7 separate regions of the Homo sapiens genome follow, and all the other regions are linked to region 1. The links are contacts of gene promoters, found by promoter capture Hi-C in blood cells and fetal thymus (Javierre and others, 2016). All regions are on one chromosome and are shown on one strand. The core of a region is centred on a gene start or on the middle of the fragment in contact, and the rest is flanking DNA. Distances in the headings are between cores, read along the strand shown.

Evidence for each region. The method cuts DNA at HindIII sites, captures the fragments that hold promoters and counts their contacts. A CHiCAGO score of 5 or more calls a contact.
Region 2: a contact is called between a fragment that was not itself captured here and the fragment with the promoter of MSH4 in region 1, in 2 of 17 cell types (total CD8 T cells and total CD4 T cells). The highest score is 8.5, in total CD8 T cells.
Region 3: a fragment that was not itself captured here is called in contact with the fragment with the promoter of MSH4 in region 1 in 1 of 17 cell types (activated CD4 T cells); the score reaches 5.3 in activated CD4 T cells.
Region 4: the fragment with the promoter of LRRIQ3 here is called in contact with the fragment with the promoter of MSH4 in region 1 in 1 of 17 cell types (activated CD4 T cells); the score reaches 7.2 in activated CD4 T cells.
Region 5: a fragment that was not itself captured here is called in contact with the fragment with the promoter of MSH4 in region 1 in 1 of 17 cell types (activated CD4 T cells); the score reaches 5.8 in activated CD4 T cells.
Region 6: a fragment that was not itself captured here is called in contact with the fragment with the promoter of MSH4 in region 1 in 1 of 17 cell types (activated CD4 T cells); the score reaches 5.5 in activated CD4 T cells.
Region 7: a fragment that was not itself captured here is called in contact with the fragment with the promoter of MSH4 in region 1 in 1 of 17 cell types (activated CD4 T cells); the score reaches 5.1 in activated CD4 T cells.

Annotation. Positions count from the first base shown.
Region 1 is chr1:75,795,373-75,798,131 of GRCh38, forward strand. MSH4 (mutS homolog 4) reads left to right here and starts at 1,510. Exons shown (of 20, transcript NM_002440.4): 1 at 1,510-1,857. The coding sequence starts at 1,614. The HindIII fragment of the contact is 6,934 bases long and covers 1-2,759 here.
Region 2 is chr1:77,593,270-77,595,969 of GRCh38, forward strand. All of the region lies in intron 5 of ZZZ3 (zinc finger ZZ-type containing 3), which reads right to left. Among named protein-coding and RNA genes, the nearest start is that of ZZZ3, 88 kb to the right of the region's middle. RefSeq lists an enhancer at 1,148-1,267. The HindIII fragment of the contact is 1,271 bases long and covers 676-1,946 here.
Region 3 is chr1:77,220,993-77,223,890 of GRCh38, forward strand. It overlaps LOC105378808 (a long non-coding RNA gene), which reads left to right. Exons shown (of 3, transcript XR_001738109.2): 2 at 1. Among named protein-coding and RNA genes, the nearest start is that of PIGK, 3.0 kb to the left of the region's middle. The HindIII fragment of the contact is 4,293 bases long and covers 1-2,898 here.
Region 4 is chr1:74,196,617-74,199,512 of GRCh38, forward strand. LRRIQ3 (leucine rich repeats and IQ motif containing 3) reads right to left here and starts at 1,560. Exons shown (of 8, transcript NM_001105659.2): 1 at 1,380-1,560. It overlaps FPGT-TNNI3K (FPGT-TNNI3K readthrough), which reads left to right and starts at 1,626. Exons shown (of 27, transcript NM_001112808.3): 1 at 1,626-1,744. The coding sequence starts at 1,663. FPGT (fucose-1-phosphate guanylyltransferase) reads left to right here and starts at 1,626. Exons shown (of 4, transcript NM_003838.5): 1 at 1,626-1,744. The coding sequence starts at 1,663. RefSeq lists a silencer at 1,464-1,563. The HindIII fragment of the contact is 8,918 bases long and covers 1-2,896 here.
Region 5 is chr1:77,466,456-77,469,159 of GRCh38, forward strand. All of the region lies in intron 8 of AK5 (adenylate kinase 5), which reads left to right. Among named protein-coding and RNA genes, the nearest start is that of AK5, 190 kb to the left of the region's middle. The HindIII fragment of the contact is 4,658 bases long and covers 1-2,704 here.
Region 6 is chr1:77,301,342-77,304,066 of GRCh38, forward strand. All of the region lies in intron 5 of AK5 (adenylate kinase 5), which reads left to right. Among named protein-coding and RNA genes, the nearest start is that of AK5, 21 kb to the left of the region's middle. The HindIII fragment of the contact is 980 bases long and covers 978-1,957 here.
Region 7 is chr1:77,387,009-77,389,730 of GRCh38, forward strand. The region is part of intron 6 of AK5 (adenylate kinase 5); the gene reads left to right. Among named protein-coding and RNA genes, the nearest start is that of AK5, 110 kb to the left of the region's middle. The HindIII fragment of the contact is 1,359 bases long and covers 687-2,045 here.

The sequences.
Region 1 (2,759 bases), core at 260-2,759:
TCTGTTGCCCAGGCTGGAGCGCAGCAGCACGATCTCAGCTTAACTGCAACCTCCGTCTGCCGGGTTTAAGCAATTCAGCCGCAGCCTCTCGAGTAGCTGGGACTACAGCCGCACACCACCATGCCCGGCTAATTTTTATGTTACTTTAGTACAGACAGGGTTTCACCATGCTGAGGAGCTGGAGACCAGCCTGACCTTGTGATCCACCCACCTCGGCCTCCCAAAGTGCTGGGATTACAGGCGTGAGCCACCACGCCTGGCCTAAAATGAGTACAATCACTCTAGGGGTTTACAGTTTTGGTGAAAGTGAGGTATTCTCTATTTTTAAATTTTATTTTTTAGAGACAGGGTCTTCCTTTCTTCCCCAGGCTGGGGCATAGTAGTGCAATCACAGCTCACTGTAACCTTAAACTCCTGGGCTCAAGCAGTCCTTCCACCTCAGCCTCCTGAGTACCAGGGTCTACAGGTACCTGCCACCATGCCCACTATGCCCAGCTGATTTCTTAATTTTGGGGACAGGCACTGTCTTCCCCAGGCTGGTCTCCGGAGGTGAAGTAATCCTCTGGCCTCAGTCTCCCAAAGTACTGGGATTACAGGGAGGAGCCATCGTGCCCGATCTGAAAATAAGGTTTTTTGATGGAAATTGAGATTTTTCTCAAGTATGTTTGGAATGCCCTGTGCAATAATCATTCCAAGAACAGAGATGTTCTTAAGGACTGTTGTCACTGCATGTGGGTAAACCGCTGTGCATAACTGGTTTATTGAGATACTCAACAGTGGCAGGATTTCAGTAGTGGTGTAAATTAATGTCTTCTAATAGCTTCTGTATGGCAGTATCCAGATAATTTCGTCATGTTTAATCCATGGATCTCTGGTAAGTTGGTACTATTGGCCTTATTTAAGGAATTTTCTAAAGGTCACCACTGCAAAGCTGGAGTTTGAACTTCTAGTGTGCCATTAACTGATTTATATGTTAGAAACCACAGTACTAGAAATTGGTAGATGGGGAATTGTTAACTGAGAGATCTTACCCAGTCAGTCTTTCCCTGTTTCCTACTCTACTATGCACACAGCCATGTGCATACTATCTTTTGATAATATAACTATCTTTCCTATATTTGGTCACAAGATCAACCTTAGGTGGGTTATGCTGTGTGAGCATTACACGTTCTCATTGTGTCAAAGGCACTGGGTGTACTGTGTTGGGTGGTTTCTACATTTAAAGATAAGCTAGTGTGCTTGGACGTGTGGGAAATGCATGTAACATTTGCAATAAGGGAGATTGGGTGCTGTGAGAATAATGGGGCTAACAAATCGGGTGGTCATTGATGGGCCTTGCAGAGTTCTGGTCAGTCTGATACCTGCAGGCTGAGGATGTTCCAGTGAGGTTCATGTGGAAAGTGATGGGTTTGGGAATGGCTGGAAGCAGGGTCATAGACCTGAAGTACGTGAATCCATGTGGAAAGCTGAGCCTGCCTGCGCCTGCGCAGTGCAGCTTAGTGCGTCGGCGCGCAGTTCTCCCGCCCGTTTCAGCGGCGCAGCTTCTGTAGTTGGGCTACTGGAGGGGTCGCTCAGAAACCTCATACTTCTCGGGTCAGGGAAGGTTTGGGAGGATGCTGAGGCCTGAGATCTCATCAACCTCGCCTTCTGCCCCGGCGGTTTCCCCGTCGTCGGGAGAAACCCGCTCACCTCAGGGTCCCCGCTACAATTTCGGACTCCAGGAGACTCCACAGAGCCGCCCTTCGGTCCAGGTGGTCTCTGCATCCACCTGTCCTGGCACGTCAGGAGCTGCGGGCGACCGGAGCAGCAGCAGCAGCAGCCTTCCCTGCCCCGCGCCAAACTCCCGGCCAGCTCAAGGCAAGGAGTGATTGGGTGGAGGAGTCTCCTTGAGGCTAGAGGCCGGCAGTTCATGGAGGCTCGGGGGCACGTGGGTGGTGGTTACCACAGTGAAGTTGTGATTTGGTTGGGGCGTGAGATCTGAGTGCCCTGGGAATTTGGTGAGTCTGGGTGATTAGAAGCCTTGACTTTTCAAATTGGTTCTATTGCAAGACCTTGACTGTGGATGGCTCAGTTCTGAGAAAGGCTGAAGTATCCCATATAACGTCCCTCACAGTGTCTGACAAATGACAGTTTGTGCGTGAGTTTGCTGATAGAAGTTGTGAGCTGATCTTTGGCTGCTGAATTTAATTCTCCAAATCCTGCTAAGGTGGGATAAAATAGATTAAATTGAACATTTCATCTAATTCAGGGAAAATAATATGTTTAGTATTAAAAGAGTGGGCTGGGCGGTGGCTGACGCCTGTAATCCCAGCACTTTGGGAAACCAGGGTGGGCGGATCACTTGAGGCCGGGAGTTCCACACCAGCCTGGCCAACATGGTGAACCTCCCACCCCCATCCCCTATCTCTACTAAAAGTACAAAAATTATCTGGGTGTGGTGGCACGTGACTGTGGTCCCAGCTACTCAGGAGGTTGAGGTGGGAGGATGGCGAGTCCGGGAGGTCGAGGCTGCCGTGAGCTGAGATTGCGCCACTGCATTTCAGCCTGGGTGACACAGTGAGACCCTGACTCAAAACAAACAAACAAAAAAGATGCATGTCCTTCAAATCATTTATTATTTTGTTAGTCTCTATTCATGACAAAGCATCACCATTTTTCACACACGATTGCAACACAATGGTAAAGTAACAAATACCAAATCCAATGGTCATTTTTCAGTTCATCTCATGTGACCTTTCTGCTGTATTTAATGTTCTTAA
Region 2 (2,700 bases), core at 61-2,560, 1.8 Mb after region 1:
CCTCAAGAAACTCTTGAATATACACAGTATAAGACATATGTTCATAGCAGCCTTATTAATAACCCCAAAGTCCATCTAATACTAATGCTTAATATAGCAATGAAAATGGACATCTATTTATATAAACACATACAAATATCACAAACATAATGTATTACAAATGAACAGATACAGTACGGTTCAAAAGCATGAAAAACTAAACTTTATTGTTAAAAGGATACACATATAGGTGGTTACAAGTTTTTAAAACAGCAAAGAATTATTTTCTCAAAAGTAAGATCATATTTACCTCTGGGAAGAGGAAAGGGGCAAGGTATAACTGAAGAACTATTCCTAGGAGACTTGTAAAGTGCTATCAATATTTTATTTCTTAACCTGGATAGTGATTAAACAACTATAGGCTATTTGATTTCATAATTACTCTATAACTGTGCATAAATACTTCATTAGTCTTATATGCATAAGATATTGCACAATTTTTTTTAAGGGAAAATAACTTTTCTAGGAAGAAAATGTTACAAAGAGATCACCTGCACTCTTTAGAACTTTTTAAGAGTCCTAGTTCAAGTCCCAGCTCTACCAGCAACTAACCATGGAACTTTATTCAAGTCATTAAACCTTGGGTCTTGCTTCTTTGTCTTTAAAATGAAAATGGACAAAATGGATAATTGCAAAAGCTTTTTTTCTAAGCAAAACATTCAAGGATCCTAAGATACTTGTACCACTCAGGTCACTCATTACTATATATTCTTTCTGAGTTGTAAATGGATTCCATTTATGTTGTATACACAAATACAGCATTAAGTCTCCACTTTCTTCATACAGAATCGTATCTGACAACTGGGCTTATTGGCTCTGCCCACAGCTAGAAGTATGCAAAGTTACTGCCTTCAAAGAGGAGAATATTTAAAAAGACCTATGTGATAAGTTTCTCCTACTTTATAGTGTCTACTCATGAGGCATAATAACTTTTCTCTCACAAAAGTCACTTCTAAAAGGAAATTATCAGGAATATTATGGCTGGTTTATGAAGAGACTGGCTGTTCCCTAGGTCACTAAACAGTATACTGCCTGAAGGCAAAAATTTTTAGGTACACCTATCCCTTTAGTTCTTAAAATGAATGTCTTATTTTATTATATTGTGTGATTTTTTAAGAGGAAAGCCATTTTTCTACATCTTTAATGCTGTCCCATAGCATAGTAAGGTTCAAGAAACAGAAAGTGCTCATAAAAATGAAAACAGAAACTACAAAAGAAAATAAGAGCTGAGTAGTTATACAGATGGATGACTCTTCAATGACGACAGTTCAGATATAGTTCTAGACTATATTTAGAGCACTGTTTTAATATTCTGTTTATGACATCTTGGGAGTTCTTTAAGTATGCTAAAGGAACATACAAGCCTCAATTCTTTTCAACACTTAACACTTAAATGAACACATAAAAAACAAACTTGCCAAATTTATGAACATGAAGCTGAGAAGGATAGCAAATACTATAGATTAAAAAAATCAGGATTAAGAAATAACAGGCAAGCTAGAAAACTAGACCAACAACAAGATAACATTTAACTACATAAACAAAAAATATGGCATTGAATTACAAAACAACCAGATAAGTATAGGATGGTATGAACTTGCCTTGACAGGCCCAAAAAAAAAAAAAAAAAAAAAAAATTGTGGTCCTCTCAGCTGGATCATTAGCTTACTATGAGGCAAAGTATAAAGTGCTGCTCAACAAACATTATTTGTAATATTATCTTGAACTTGCATCAACCCATTCAAACACTTACCATGCACATTCACTGTATGTTCTGTTACATCAACCATTCTAAAGGAGGCACATATAACCAACATGCAGCACTACCTTCAAGATCATTACAATTTAGGGAAGAAGATGTGACTGTGTGAACAGTAGTTGTTTATTTAAATATTGAAAAATAAGAAAGCTTATAAAATTCTTAGTGAATTCCTAGAATTTGCCAGAGTTTTAATGATTAATGTACTCTAAGAGAAATACACATATGCAAAATTTAACTAGCCATGATGAATGCATAAGCATGTTATGAACAAAATGATCATTTCAGGGAGATACAAACAATGCATCATATAAGAAGTAAAAAGCAAGTTGAATCCTGAAAAATAGATGGGATTTCAAAAGGAAAGGCAAAAAGAGGTTAAGACATTCTAGACAGAATATCAAATATTACACCTTATCAGGCTTTTAGTTTCCTCTTCTACAAAATAGGAGACTCTCTAAAATCTCTGTCCAATTCCAGAATCCCCAGGAAGTAGAGCATCTATATATTTTTTAAAACTCCACAGATTATTGTGAAGCATGCCCTTCACAAATTATTGTAAAGTGTACCATTCTAATGCAATACGGAGTAAATGTAAGTTTTAAACAATTAAATGATGATACAAGCAAACATTTGCATTTGGAAGGCTAATATGATCACAATGTATAAGATAAATTGGAGAGAGATGAAAATGGCAAAGGAAACTTCAAAGAAAGCTATGTAGCTGACGTATAAAATTACACTCTGAGCATCCTATTTAGCACCGAAGTTGTTAACTAACTGAAAAGCAGAAAACTTAAAGAAGAGGGTATACTGAAAAGCAAAAGAGGGTATACTGAAACTGCATTCAAGATACGAATACTTGCTACGTAGAAAAGAGAACAGACCTATTTCAAGTCATC
Region 3 (2,898 bases), core at 263-2,762, 1.4 Mb after region 1:
GGTAAGTTTGGTGATCCTAGCCCTTGCCTCTTCCTGTACATAAGATAATGTCTGACAAGATTAATGATTATGCCTCAAATTCATGACCAGATGTAACTTCATACCCACACTTTGATGAGACTTTACTTGTATTAACCCATTTTCATACTGCTATGAAGAAATACCCAAGACTGCATAATTTCTAAAGAAAAAGGCTTAGTGGACTCACAGTTCCACATGGCTGGGGAAGCCTCACAATCATGGTAGAAGATGAAGAAGGAGCAAAGGCACATCTTACATGGCAGCAGGTGAGAGAGCATGTGCAGAGGAACTACCCTTTATAAAACCATCAGAGGCCAGGTGCAGTGGCTCACACCTGTAATCCTAGCACTTTGGGAGGCCGAGGCAGGCAGATCATCTGAGGTCAGGCATTCAAGACCAGCCTGGCCAACATGGCAAAACCCCATGTTTCAAAATTAGCTCAGTGTGGGGGCACATGCCTGTAATACCAGCTACTAGGGAGGCTGAGGCAGGAGAATCGCTTGAACCTGGGAGGCAGAGGTTGCAGTGAGCCAAGATCACGCTACTGTACTCCAGCCTGGGCAACAGAGCCAGACTTTGTCTCAAAAAATAAAATGAAATAAAATAAAAATAAATAAATAGATAGATAAATAAAACCATCAGAGCTCGTGAGAACTCACTACCATGACAACATGAGGGTAACTGATCCCATAATTAAATTACTTCCCATCAGGTCCCTCCCTTGACACTTGGGGATTATGGGAGCTACAATTCAAGATGAGATTTGGGTTGGGACACAGCCAAACCATATCATTCCACCCTGGCCCCTCCAAAATCTCCTGTCCTCACATTTCAAAAGCAATCATGCCTTACCAGCAGTCCCCCAAAGTCTTAACTCATTTCAGCATTAACTCAAAAGTCTACAGTCCAAAGTCTCATCTGAGACAAGGCAAGTCCCTTCTGCCTATGAGCTTGTAAAATCATAAGCAAGTTAAGTTACTTCCTAAATACAATGGGGGTACAAGCATTGGGTAAATACACCCATTCCAAATGGGAGAAATAGGCCAAAATGAAGGGACTACAGGGCCCATGCAAGTCCAAAATCCAGCAGGGCAGTCAAATCTTAAAGCTCCAAAATGATCTGCTTTGACTCCGTGTCTCACATCCAGTTCACGTTGATACAAGAGGTAGGTTGCCATGGTCTTGGGCAGCTCTGCCCCTGTGGCTTTGCAAGATACAGCCTCCTTCCCAGCTGCTTTAACAGGCTGGCATTGAGTGTCTCTGGCTTTCCCAGGCATATGCTGCAAGCTGTTGGTGGATCTACCATCCTGGGGTCTGGAGGATGGTGGCCCTCTTCTCACAGCTCCACTAGGCACTGCCCCAGTGGGGACTCTGTGTGGGGGATCCCACCCCACATTTCCCTTCTGCATTGCCCTTCTGCCTTAGCAGAGGTCGTGCATGAGGGCCCTGCCCCTGCAGCACACCTCTGCCTGAACATCCGGGTGTTTCCATACATCCTCTGAAATCTAGGCAGGGTTCCCAAACCTCAATTCTTGACTTCCGTGCACCCACAGTCCCAATATCACATGTGAGCAGCCTGAGACTGCACAAAGCAGCAAGGCCCTGGGCCCAGCCCATAAACCCATTTTTCCTCCTTGGCCTCCTGGCTTGTGATGAGAGGGACTTCCAGGAAGACCTCTTACATGCCCTGGAGACATTTTTCCCATTGTCGTGGTAATTAACATGTGGCTTCTTGTTACTTATGCAAATTTCTGCAGCAGGCTTGAATTTCTCCGCAAAAAATGGGTTTTTCTTTTCTATCACGTCATCAGGCTGCAAGTTTTCCTTTTATGCTCTGCTTCCTCTTGAACGCTTTGCCACTTAGAAATTTCTTCCCTCAGGTACCCTAAATCATCTCTCTAAAGTTCAAAGTTCCACAGATAACTAGGGCAGGGGCAAAATGCCACCAGTCTCTTTGCTAAAGCATAGCAAGAGTGACCTTTATTCCATTTCCCAACAAGTTCCTCATCTCCATCTGAGACCACCTCAGCCTGGACTTCTTTGTCCGTATCCCTATTAGCCTTCTGATCAAAGCCATTCAACAAGTCTCTAGGAAGTTCCAAACTTTCCTACATCTTTCTGTCTTCTGAGCCCTCCAAGTCTCTAGGAAGTTCCAGAGTTTCCCACATTTTCCTGTCTTCTTCTGAGCCCTCCAAACTGTTCCAACCTCTGCCTGTTACCCTGTTCCAAAGTTGCTTCAACATTTTCTGTTAACCTTATAGCAGAGCCCCACTACCTCAGTTCCAATTTACTGTATTAGTCCATTTTCATACTACTGTGAAGAAATAGCCAAGACTGGGTAATTTATAAAGAAAAAGAGGTTCAGTGGACTCACAGTTCCACATGGCTGGGGAGGCCTCACAATCGTGACAGAAGGCAAAGGAGGAGCAAAGACACATCTTACCTGGCAGCAAGGCAAGAGAGAGAGCATGTGCGGAGGAACTGCCCTTTATGAAACCATCAGATTTCCTGAGATTTATTCACTATCATGAGACCAGCAGGGGAAAAACTTGCCCCCATGATTAAATTACTTCCCACCGGGTCCTACCATTGACACATGGGGATTATGGGAGCTACAATTCAAGATGAGATTTGAGTGGGGACACAGCCAAACCATGTCATTAATGTAATTTCTGAGCACATTTGATGTAACTTCTTAACACATGCAGAGCAACCACCACCTATGTTTAAGCTATGGGGTGAATCAATGCTTTGCAGCAATATAACAAACTCTTTGAAAGATTCTCCCAGGTTGCAGTACTCAGTAGGACTTCTGAATAAAATTAACTTTAATTATTTAAAAGCCTGTTTTTTTTTCTTTAGTTGACATAACATACC
Region 4 (2,896 bases), core at 310-2,809, 1.6 Mb before region 1:
GAAACTTACCCATCTTAATTGATGGCCAATCCATCCCAAGGCAGTCATTTTGACTCCTCTTTTTCTCTTACAGTCCACACCCATTAATTCCATCAGCACATTTTATTGTTTTTGTCTTAAAAATATATCCAGAATCTGACCAACTTCTCACCATTCCCACTGCTACCATCCTGGTCAAGCCTTCACCAGCTCTCACCTGCAATATTGCAGTAACCTCCAAAGAAGTCTCCCTGCTTCTATCATTGCCTCATCCCCCATTATAATCTATTCTCCTATCTCCGAGTGATCTCTTTAAACATAAGCCAAGTCACTTCAAAACCCTGCAATGGCTTTGTTTCCCTCAAGAGTAAAAACCAAAATTCTTCCTATGGCCCTTTGTTCTCTCTCTGACCTTCTCTCGCTACTTTCTCCTTTGGTTACTTTCACTCAAGTCTCTGTATTTTCTAAATGTTCTTCAATAAGATACTGTTTTTTTAATTAATGAAGTTTTAAATGTAAAACTATGAAAGAGTAATCTAATCTGCCATTTTATCCAAATGTTTCCACTATTAGAACACGATTGTATAACAAGTCTGAGAAGAAAAACTAAGTAAATTTATGACAAGAGTTTATGGTGCCCTGAATGTCTACGTACCTAATGAAGACGTTGATACAGAGAAATCGTCTCAAAAAATCAAACGGTATGGTGAAATACCACAAGTTCTGGGTTTGGGATTGAAATATATTTCTTAAATCTTTTATTACTTACTAATTGTGATACCTTGACTAACTCACTATTCTCTGATTCAGTTTTCTTCTGTGTAAAGATGAAGTGGTCTGTAAAACCAAGAAACCTCGTGTTCTATAACAGGAACACCTTTATATAGCTACCCAAAAAAACACCTAAAAAGGCTGACTTATTCCTAAGAGTGTTATTGAACATTCTAGATTAATCTGCATATACAAAAGAATGCCAGAGAAGAAACCAAAATACCAAAAATATTTGGAGCCTGGTTGCGGACTGAATTTTATACAACTTTCAAAGACACTATTTGAGAGGCTGTCGTGTGTAGCCTACTAAGAAAAAACAGAGGGGTGGGGTGGCTCACTCTCTAGGAACCACAAACTTAAGGTTCCTAGAAAGAGCAGAGATTTTAAATATTCAGACTGTGTATGTATCATGACCCAGGGTTGGGGGCAGATGGCCCGGGGTGGCGGGGGAAAGGAGAGATGGCGGAGATCTTCTATCAGGCTATCCTGGGGAACTGCTCCAGGCTGAAACAAACCACCAGTTAGGACGAACCGCCTTTGATGTGAAAGCTGGGAAGCTAGAATGTAGTTTCGCCTTATCCTTAGCGGGTCGGTTCTAACAATTTTGTCACCCAAACTGAACCACTCACCGGGTCAACTGGGCTGCAAGCCCTTATGAGTTGGAGACAAGTGGCCCAGCCCCAACACAGTCAGACAAATCGCTGGGCGGCCATCTGCTCCTGAGACCGTTGCTAGAGAAACAAGACAACATCCAAGTTCTCCACATCATGGTTTTCCGGGCGCCAGCCAAGGCGCTCCGGGGGCGTGGTTACGTGGGCGACGCACGGAGGGGGCGGGTCAGAAACAACCGGGCGGAGGCGCACCCCAGGGCGCATGCGTGCTGTGCGGCGCGGTCTCAGGGAAGGTGGGGCTATGGCAGCTGCTAGGGACCCTCCGGAAGTATCGCTGCGAGAAGCCACCCAGCGAAAATTGCGGAGGTTTTCCGAGCTAAGAGGTACCAGAGAAGGCACCGGAGTTCTCCTGGGCAATGCAGAGGGAGGGTGCTTTTACGTGCCAGGAGGTTTGCTGGACTGTCACTTCCCGTTTACTTCTCATCTGTAGGCCTATGACGCTCCCCAGGAGTAGCTAGCTAATAATCCTTTTGAGTTTTTTATTCTTTTCACTGTCCCTGCTTGACATGCTTGTTGCTTACTTTATTCTTAGTAGTATAGATATTAAAAATGAGGGCGGAGGAAGAAGAAGAAAATCTTACTAGTGAAGTTATGCATTGATTAGCTCATTAATAAAAGTTGCTTTAAATAAATCTAAAAGATACGAAGCACAGTATTTTGAACTTTATGAGTAGATGCCAGCCCCCTATCTACTTCACGCTTTACATTACGTTCATCTACTTCTGTAATGTAACCGTTTGTTGAGGGAGTAACAGAACATGGAGGAATTATGGATTAAAAATTAAAAGGAAGAAATTTGTTATCAAAAAATTGGCTATGACACTTAATCCCTGTACACCTGTCTAATAAAAGTGATTATATTTGTGTTGCAGTGACTGCTTAAAAAATACTGGGACTAATTCTTGGATAACAGTAAAACTTTCAGGACTATTAGATTCTAGCTGACAAGTTCTGTTTGTTAACTAATTAAAATGCTAAATCATTTTGTTTATCAATAAAGAGATTCCAACTGTCTACTAAAAGTGCACACTGTCTTTTAAAGATGTCATCAGAGAGTTGGGACCTTCTGTTATCCAGAATTTTATGTTATATTCTAACAGCCTATGTAAGTTTGCATGGTTCATCTTAAAGTAATAGAAAATAAAGTACCCACATTTATAAACAGCAACATTGAGGGAAGGGATCTTTGGGTTGTGTCTTTCTTAGTCACCTAACACCAAGTGTCCGTGATACATAAGAATTGATTTGCAAAGCTGGAGATTTGTTTATGTTTATCTCCTCTTCTTATTGAAGAATTGAGGCAATAGTCTTTGGCAAGTTAAAAGTCGCTCTCTTAATCAAGAAACATTATGTCATTCAGAATTTATAATTAAATTGGATTGCAAACCATAAAAGGAGGGAGTGATCTAAAAGAAAAAAAAGGAACTTGTGAACAGTCTTCATTATAACTATTTTGAATCGTATTAATGCACCAC
Region 5 (2,704 bases), core at 95-2,594, 1.7 Mb after region 1:
ACCCCCAGCCTGGGCACAATACCTGGCAGATCAGGACAGATCACGCCCTCAAAGCTGAATAAAGACCTCATTGATGTTAACAAGAGTCCAAAGCAGAATTTGACCCAAACCTAGTGACTTAGCCCATTTTGTGCTGCTGTAACAAAATACCACAGACTGGGTGATTTATAAAAAACAAAAATTTAATCCTCACACTTCTGGAGTCTGGAAACCAAGATCAAGGTGCCAGCATCTGGTGAGGGCCTGTTTGCTACGTCCTCACATGTTGGAACACAGAAGGGCGGCAGAGAACCCACATCCACAAGCCCTTTTTAAGAGGGCTCTGCCCTCATGATCTAAACACCTCCCAGTGGTCCACACCTTCTAACATGGTTGCGCTGGGGATTAAGTTTTCAACACATGAGTCTTGGAGGGGACCAAAACATTCAAACCATAGCAACCATAGCACCCAGGGTAGGGATCTAGTGCTTTTGCCAACATCCCACACTGCATTGCAGGTAGCAGAAATGAAAATATTTTCCATGTATAAAGCAACATATACATGCAAGACACTGAAATTTAAAGAAAATACAATAGCTTCTATGGGACCACATTAACTTAGATGTGAACATGCATCAAATTGTAACTCTCCCTGAATTGTAACATACTCCTGTATAGAAAGTAATATCAAATTGCCTCTTTTATTCATTCCTGGATAGGGAAAAATGCATGGAGTCTTTGGAGTTCAGTCCCCTGGGTCAAGGTATCAGCTCTCTTACATACCAGGTGTGAGACTTTGGTCCTTGTGTCATTCCCTCACCCAAGCCTCACTTTCTTTCCTTGTAAAGTGGAGGCTCCTAGTTTCTCCTTCATGGGTTTCTGTGAACAGACTCACACAATGAATGCATTCACAACAATGAGAATTTCTCCTTCCACCCCACAGACTTCTGTTCTGCGCAGAGCCTGCTGCTCAGTAATAAGTAGAAAATGAATAGGAAAAACACTTCGGAAATCCAAGGCTGATGATTTGGAAATGTGCCTTTGTGAAGCTGATGTTCAAAGATAAAAACTGTTTTGAGCATAAAATAGTTATTTTACAGTCCACTTAGTTCTCATATGGTAATTTCATACCTGATTTTTTTTCTAAAATATATACTAATGTGTCAAATCCATGGCATAATCTTCTTCGTATTTACTCCTCTTTAAGGCTTTTAATTCTTCGATTTTAGTACACATAAAGAAAAGCCATGAAGAGGCATTGATGACAAGTATTGATTCCAGCCTATGAAATATTCCCACTGTCCTTTAAAGTTTTAGGTCTTTACAACCTCAGGGGAAGGAGGAGAGGAGGCTGCTCTGAATTCATACGGTATATCTGAGAGGACCAGCCCTGTCCTCTCTCAAGGTGGACTGGTTTCAGAAGCAGTGAGCATGCCCTGCACTTACATCATCCCTTCCTCATCATCCCTCACCCGGTGCTCATAGCAGTATCATCATGTAAGCACAGGAAAGGAATGGCTGCTCTATTAGGAGTCACTGAAGGCTGAGACCAGCAGCAGCAGCAGCTCCAGAATGTTTACAGAAGAGGGGCTTAAGTGCTGGGGTAGGGTTAAAGGGGGTCTTAGAGGACTGGCCTGAGGCCACTTTAGTACACCAAGCCTCTTGGCTTATAAATGGAGGCATGTTTATTTGAACTCTTGAGGGGGTGGGAGATGTGGTTGCAGTGTCTGACTGATACCATTGAAGCAGCATTTGCAAAAGCAGTAAAATTCTGCTTTGCTTCTTTTTCCCTGTACTCTCTTTCCTTAACATTTAATATGGAAAAAATTGATAAACCTTCACCTCAAGTCAGGCCACTGCTAGCCCATATGGTACTTTTGTGCAGATTAGAAAAAGATCCCCGTCTTGGCAGACACATCAGTGAGACACACAGGTTGGTAACTGGATTCAGTCCCTACTCAGCTCCTTAGCCAGGAATATTTGTGAAGTGCACAACTGTAGAGCTGTACCTGGCAGCCGTGCCTCAGAGGCAGGCCTGTGGCTTCAGGCCCCAGGAAAGGGCTGCCTTCACTCAGTGGCAAGGGTCCAGCCCTGGATTTTGAATTTCCCAGCTTTTAAGAGTTAACTCTCATGCTTGCTTTTCTGTCCTGAGCCTCTTTCATTTCTGCTTTTGGCAGTTTTCTTTTTTCTATACCACATTATATATGATGGACTTTCAGAAGTAGAAAAGAGCAGGCCGGTTTCCTTGGCTCTTCCATCTATTTGTGTTTGGTACTTGGTTGAATGTGTGCTTTTCCAGATGATGTCACCATGTCTTTAAATAGTCCTCAAATACTCTTTGCTAAAGGCTTTTCAAAAGACAGTAAAATGTTTCTCTTTACCTGCTTTGGAGCTTAGTACTGTGATTTTAAGACAAACAGGAGCTATAAAGGCTGGCTTTTGAGTTCAACACGTTTCCAGGAGGCACAGAGCTAGGCTAGGTCACTCTAGAAACCAACCTGGTAGCTGTCTTCTGCATTGTCTTGGGGAAATTATAGCAGACAGCCAAAATAGAAAGGGTAAAAGTCCTTGGGCTAAAGGATTTTCGAATATTGTTTCAAAGTAAGAAGTGCTGCATATGCAGTTAACTGTTGCTGTGTCACTGCCTAGATCTTAATGGCTTAAAACAACATCCATTTATTATTCCTCTTGGTTACTTTGGAGGGAGGGAGGGTTGGCTGAGCAG
Region 6 (2,725 bases), core at 218-2,717, 1.5 Mb after region 1:
ATCTGGAAGTGACATCCATCGCTTCTGCTCACAAGGCATTGCTGAGAATTTAGTCCTGTTGGAACTGAGAGGAAGGCCGGGAAGTAGAGTCCAGCTGGGCAGCCAGGTGCCTGGCAGCAATGCTATTACTATGGAAGTCTGGGAGAACTAACTAGCATCTTCTCCCACAGTTTGCCTCTCTGGCCATGCAAATGCTCGCCTGCTCCCTTCTTCCCACACATACAATGTACTCACTCACTCCCCAAGTAAAACAACCAGAGTCCCATCATTTAGTTCAAAAGTGGAGAATCTCTACTCTATATATAGTTTTCTTCATCAGGTCTAGCTTTGACTTCTCATACTCAGCCACCTGGAAACTGAACTTCATGTTATCTTCCTTGTCTACCACTAATAAAGAGTGGAGGAGCAAGCCCAGGACAATGAAATAAAGGCTCCTATTCAAAAAAGGAAAGTTTGAGAATATACACAGTACTCACTGAACCACAGTGAATCCTGTTAGGCAGGGATTGCAAAGGTCCTTGCCCTGGCAGTTCCTCTGAGAAGTTCTTCCTTGTCCATTATCTGCATGACACATTGAAGTAGTATATTGGAGACTAATATGCTATCCTCTCCTTTTTTTTTTTTTCCTAAGTGACAAGATCCTTCTCTGTCAGCCAGGGTGGAGTGCAGGGGCACCACTGTAGCTCACTGCAGCCTCGAACTCCTGGACCACACTCAGCTAGTTTTTTAAAAACTTTTTGTGGAGACAGGGGCTCCCTGTGTTACCCAGGCTGGTTTCAAACTCCTGGCCTCAAGTGATCATCCTCTCTCAGCCTCCTAAGTGCTGGGATTACAGGTGTGAGCCACTGCAACTGGCTGAGACCTATTTTAAGTTAAAAAAAAAATGCCTTTTTTTGGCTAGAATTATGTTTATTTTGGTAAAAACTGTTTCTTTCCAAATTTGGTAGATTTCCTCTCAAAAAGAGGAAAAAGCAAAAAGCTTCCAGTCCGTGCTAGTAACTATATCATAAGTCCTTTTCCAGAGATAGTTATTAAGCTGCTTTCTTTTTTATCTTCCCGTTTTTCCTTTTTCTGTTCATTTTTATAGATTGAGGGTACAAGTGCAGTTTCATTACGCAGATATATTGCATAGTGGTGATTTCTTTGCTTTCTCATTTTAATGACAATTAGCTTCAGGCCATCTAAAACAGCAGGCTTGGGTAGAAAGGCAGCATCCTTAGTCTAGGTTTTGCTTCAGGGCTAGGTGCCCTGTTTTTTGGTGGTAGTGGTGGGTAAATGGGAATTCTTTTTGCAATAGCCTAATCTCCTGCTGTTTGGAGGTATACAGGCAGTTGGCTTTTTTAACCTTGTGCGGTCTTAAATTAGTGGATACTTTCTTTTTTCTTATATCTGCTCGCAAAGCAGTCAATTCTTTCTTGAGTTAATCTATTTCTTGTAATATGTTGCTAAACGCAGCAAAGAGCAGTCAGTGTACACAGACACTCTAGCTCTTTCCAGCCATTTCTTTAGCTATGGGCTCCATTGGAACATGACCTGCCTCCCAAGTTATCACAGTAATAATGATGTTATGCAATGACATAACAGGGGTTATCAATTTTCCATCCTAAAATGTCTGTGCCCTTACTACCCAAGCAAATCAATGTCGCATGTTTTAGTTTTTTTGATATAGTAGCATGCCCCCACTTATGTAACTATTGGCTGTATTATTTAGAGTAAATCCCAGGTGCTATAATAGAAAGACACAATGACACAGTAGCATAATACAGAAACTTATTTCCCTTTTATATAATGGATGGCCTCACTGTGAATGAGGGGAGGACAGTTTTAGTCCTCACATTCATGCAGAGATGCGGGGTTTTTTCCAGCTCATTGTCTTTCCAACTCTAGAGCAACAGCTCTAAAATTTTTGGTCACAGGACCTCTTTACACTTTTTAAAAATTGTTAAGGACCTCAAAAAGCTTTCATTTATATGTGCTATATCTATTGATATTCACCATATGAGAAATCAAAACAAATTTTAAAATATTTGTTAAGTCCTTCAAAATAACAATAAATCCACACAAGTTAACTTGAATAACATATTTTTAGAAAAGTAATCATATTTTCCAAAACTTAAAAAGTGTTGAGAGAGATATTGCTTTATATATTTGCAAATCTCTTTAACTTCTAGCTAATAGAAGAGAGTTGTATTCTCATATCTGCTTTTGTATTCAAACTGCTGTGACATCACACTTCCTGTCGCCACTGCGAAACTCCACTGTACCTTTGTGAGAAAGTGAGAGTAAAAAAGGCACATAATGTCATAGTGTTAGTAGGAAAATAGTTTTGACCTATGACCTTCTGGAAGGGGTCTTGACGATCCTCAGAGGTTTAAGAGCACAATTTCAGAACAACTGCCCTGGGACATTGTAGACATCTGCATGTTGAAAGCTAGGTCACTGCCATGGCCAGGTTCCAGCTGATTGGAAGGGGAAGAGAGTGCAGAGGATCTATGCTCAAATTCTTTTTTAAACTTTTTTTATTTTAACTTTTGTGGGTACATAGTAGGTATATATATTTAAGGGGCACATGAGATATTTGGATACAGGTGTGCAGTGTGAAATAAGCACATCATGAAGAATGGGATATCCATCCCCTCAAGCATTTATCCATTGAGTTGCAAACAATCCAATTACACTCTTTAAGTTATTTTAAAATGTACAGTTATTATTGACTATAGTCTCC
Region 7 (2,722 bases), core at 116-2,615, 1.6 Mb after region 1:
GCAAATGACAGGATTTCATTCCTTTTATGGCTGAATAGAATTCCATTGTGTAAATGTGCTACATTTTCTTTGTCCGTTCATCTGTTCATGGATGCACAGGTTGATTTCATTTCTTAGCTATGGTGAATAGTGCTGCACCTGAATGTTTTTGAGCAAGATATAGGCAAGATCAGCCTGCTGGTAATATGTGGCTTGCTGTGACCAGAAGACTAAGCCAGAAGTCAAGAAGGAGTTAAGCAATTATAGCAACCTTTCAGCTAGGACATGAGCATGACTTTAACTTGAACAATGGCATTGGCAATGGAAAGGAGGAATATTAGAATGTTAAAGATACAAAAACTTAGGGATACACAATTTTTTCATCTCTGAGGAACATTAAATATTATTTTACCCTAATTGTCACTGTAAATTTCTAGAATGTCATTATAATCAATCAGAGCTTTGACCAGCATGAGTTAACCACTATTACTACTAAGTTGACAAGGCCAAGCAAAGAAACTCAAGGTTTTAGCTTACATTTAGAGCATCTTCGTGACATAAATACAATTCCCATTAGGCATTCTGAAATGCAAAATATTTTTTAAAGTAACTTGTGGATGCTTATCACTGCTTTCCTAAACCCCAATCATACTCCCAGGCTGGAAACCACTGACTGGACCTAGAACGTCTTCATTTATAGGTGAAGAAGCTTAATCACATGTGTCTGAAAACATACTCCAAGTGATGAGCAGCATGGAGTCAAAACAAGCCTCTTGCATCTTGCTTAAAGTTAGCTACATTCTGCTGGGAATTAACAGGACTTGGTATCTGATTAGTAACATTTTTAGGGAACAACTGAATCATTTGAAAAGCAAATAATCATCCTTTCATTTATCTTTTGTTTAAGACTGGCTTTCCATTAGTAAAGGTTTGCTCAGAGCAATGTAAACCATTATTTCTGTGTTAAAATTGGCTGCTAAAACCACCACCTGGATACTTTTGTCTAACATTGATTTCTCAGCTGCTTATTTTCTTATTATCCTGCCATTTTAAATGACAAGCATTACTGTTTCTTGATCCATTATGACATAATGCCATATTAACAATCATATTGTTTGAAAGTTCCATTGTCATGCACATATATAAATGAGGCTTTAAGAGACTCAAGGTTTGAATTCCTCTTATTCTACTCTGTAACATTTTTTCTTCCATAATTCTGCAAATACAATATCACAAGTGTTGGGCATTAATTGCTTATTCAGATCAATCTCACTGGTCTCCGTAGTGACATGCATATTTTATGATACAAGTCAAGCTGCTAGATTAACAGATGTTTGTCTTTAAAGGAAAGGAAAAGTGAAACAGCAGTCACAGCATCTCTGTCCCTGTATGCATTCAATGTTAAATGCTACATTTAGAGAACAAATTAATAGGTGTATTATCTCTGAATTATCATCACCCCAAGCACTGTCCTCTGTCAGTAAGTTATTTTCAGCATTCAGGTAGTCTTTGCCACTAAATCTTTAACATCTGAGAAACCCAAAGCCATGTAAAAGAACCTGGTCGTTCTTTTGGTTGTTTTGTTGTTGTTGTTGTTGTTGTTTTTGCATTAAGCATTCCTCATGTATGGGAAACTATGATAATTCAGAATGAAAAACGTGGGAGAAATACCTTTAAAATGTTATCAGCTACATAAAGCCTGACATTTAAGAAAACTATTATGCTCTACTGAAAACAATGTGGGAAGCATAAGCTCTATGGAAAAAAAAAAAAAAGATTAATTACAGCCTTGAACTTTCTCCACTTGGCCAAAAGGAGAATAAGAGAATGTGAAGTGTGAAAGCTCTTTTGACGTGGTGACTGGAAGGGCTGCTGTTGCAATGGACAGTCTGAATCACAGACCGCAAATGAAGGAAGCAAATTCAGAATATCAGGGAAGTGGAGGAAAGTAGAAGAGAAGAACCAGGAGACTGGATGGAAGCAGAGCTAGCTCCGAAATGAGAACTACCTTGTCTGGAAAAAAGAAGGCTTACTGATAGTCAAGCAGCATAATTAAGGATCAGTGAAGCTTACAACGTTGAGAATAGTAACTGACTTCTTTGACTAGAGAGCAGCCTGAATTGGAGGGGACTGTACTGTGGGACCCTGTGAGGTATGAAAGTGGATATCCCAAGGCTGCCTTTCTGATGTCTCCAGAGAGAGACTGTAGAATTACTTTGATGTGATACACTATTGGTAAAAGCCAAGACCACATCTGCCTGAGAAAAGAAAATGGTGGAAATGAGGGAATAGAAACATTCCATTTTCAAACGTGTAGTTAAGATGTTTGCAAATTCTTGTCCCAAACGCCAGGAAAGAAAGTGGATGAATCAATGGCTACTGCAAGAATAGTTTCTGTGCCTTGCTAATAGGGAAGAAGGAAGTATCATTATCTGGGCCACTGAGGCTGCCTGAAACAGGAGAAATGCTGGATTACATAAGTTAAATACAGAAAAGTGACAGAAGGATGTAGTGAGGAGGAGAAGATGACTGCAGAAAAAAGGAAGATGGAGGAAATGAATACAATTTTAGCTTTTCATAGAAACTGATAGTGTGATTAATAGGAAATTTGTGAAAATTTGGGAGGTTAAATAATTGCAAATTATTTTATGCATAATATGACACCACAGTGTCTCTAAAATTTGTTTTTTAAGGCTGGGCACGATGGCTCATGCCTGTAATCTCAGTACTTTGGGACGCTGAG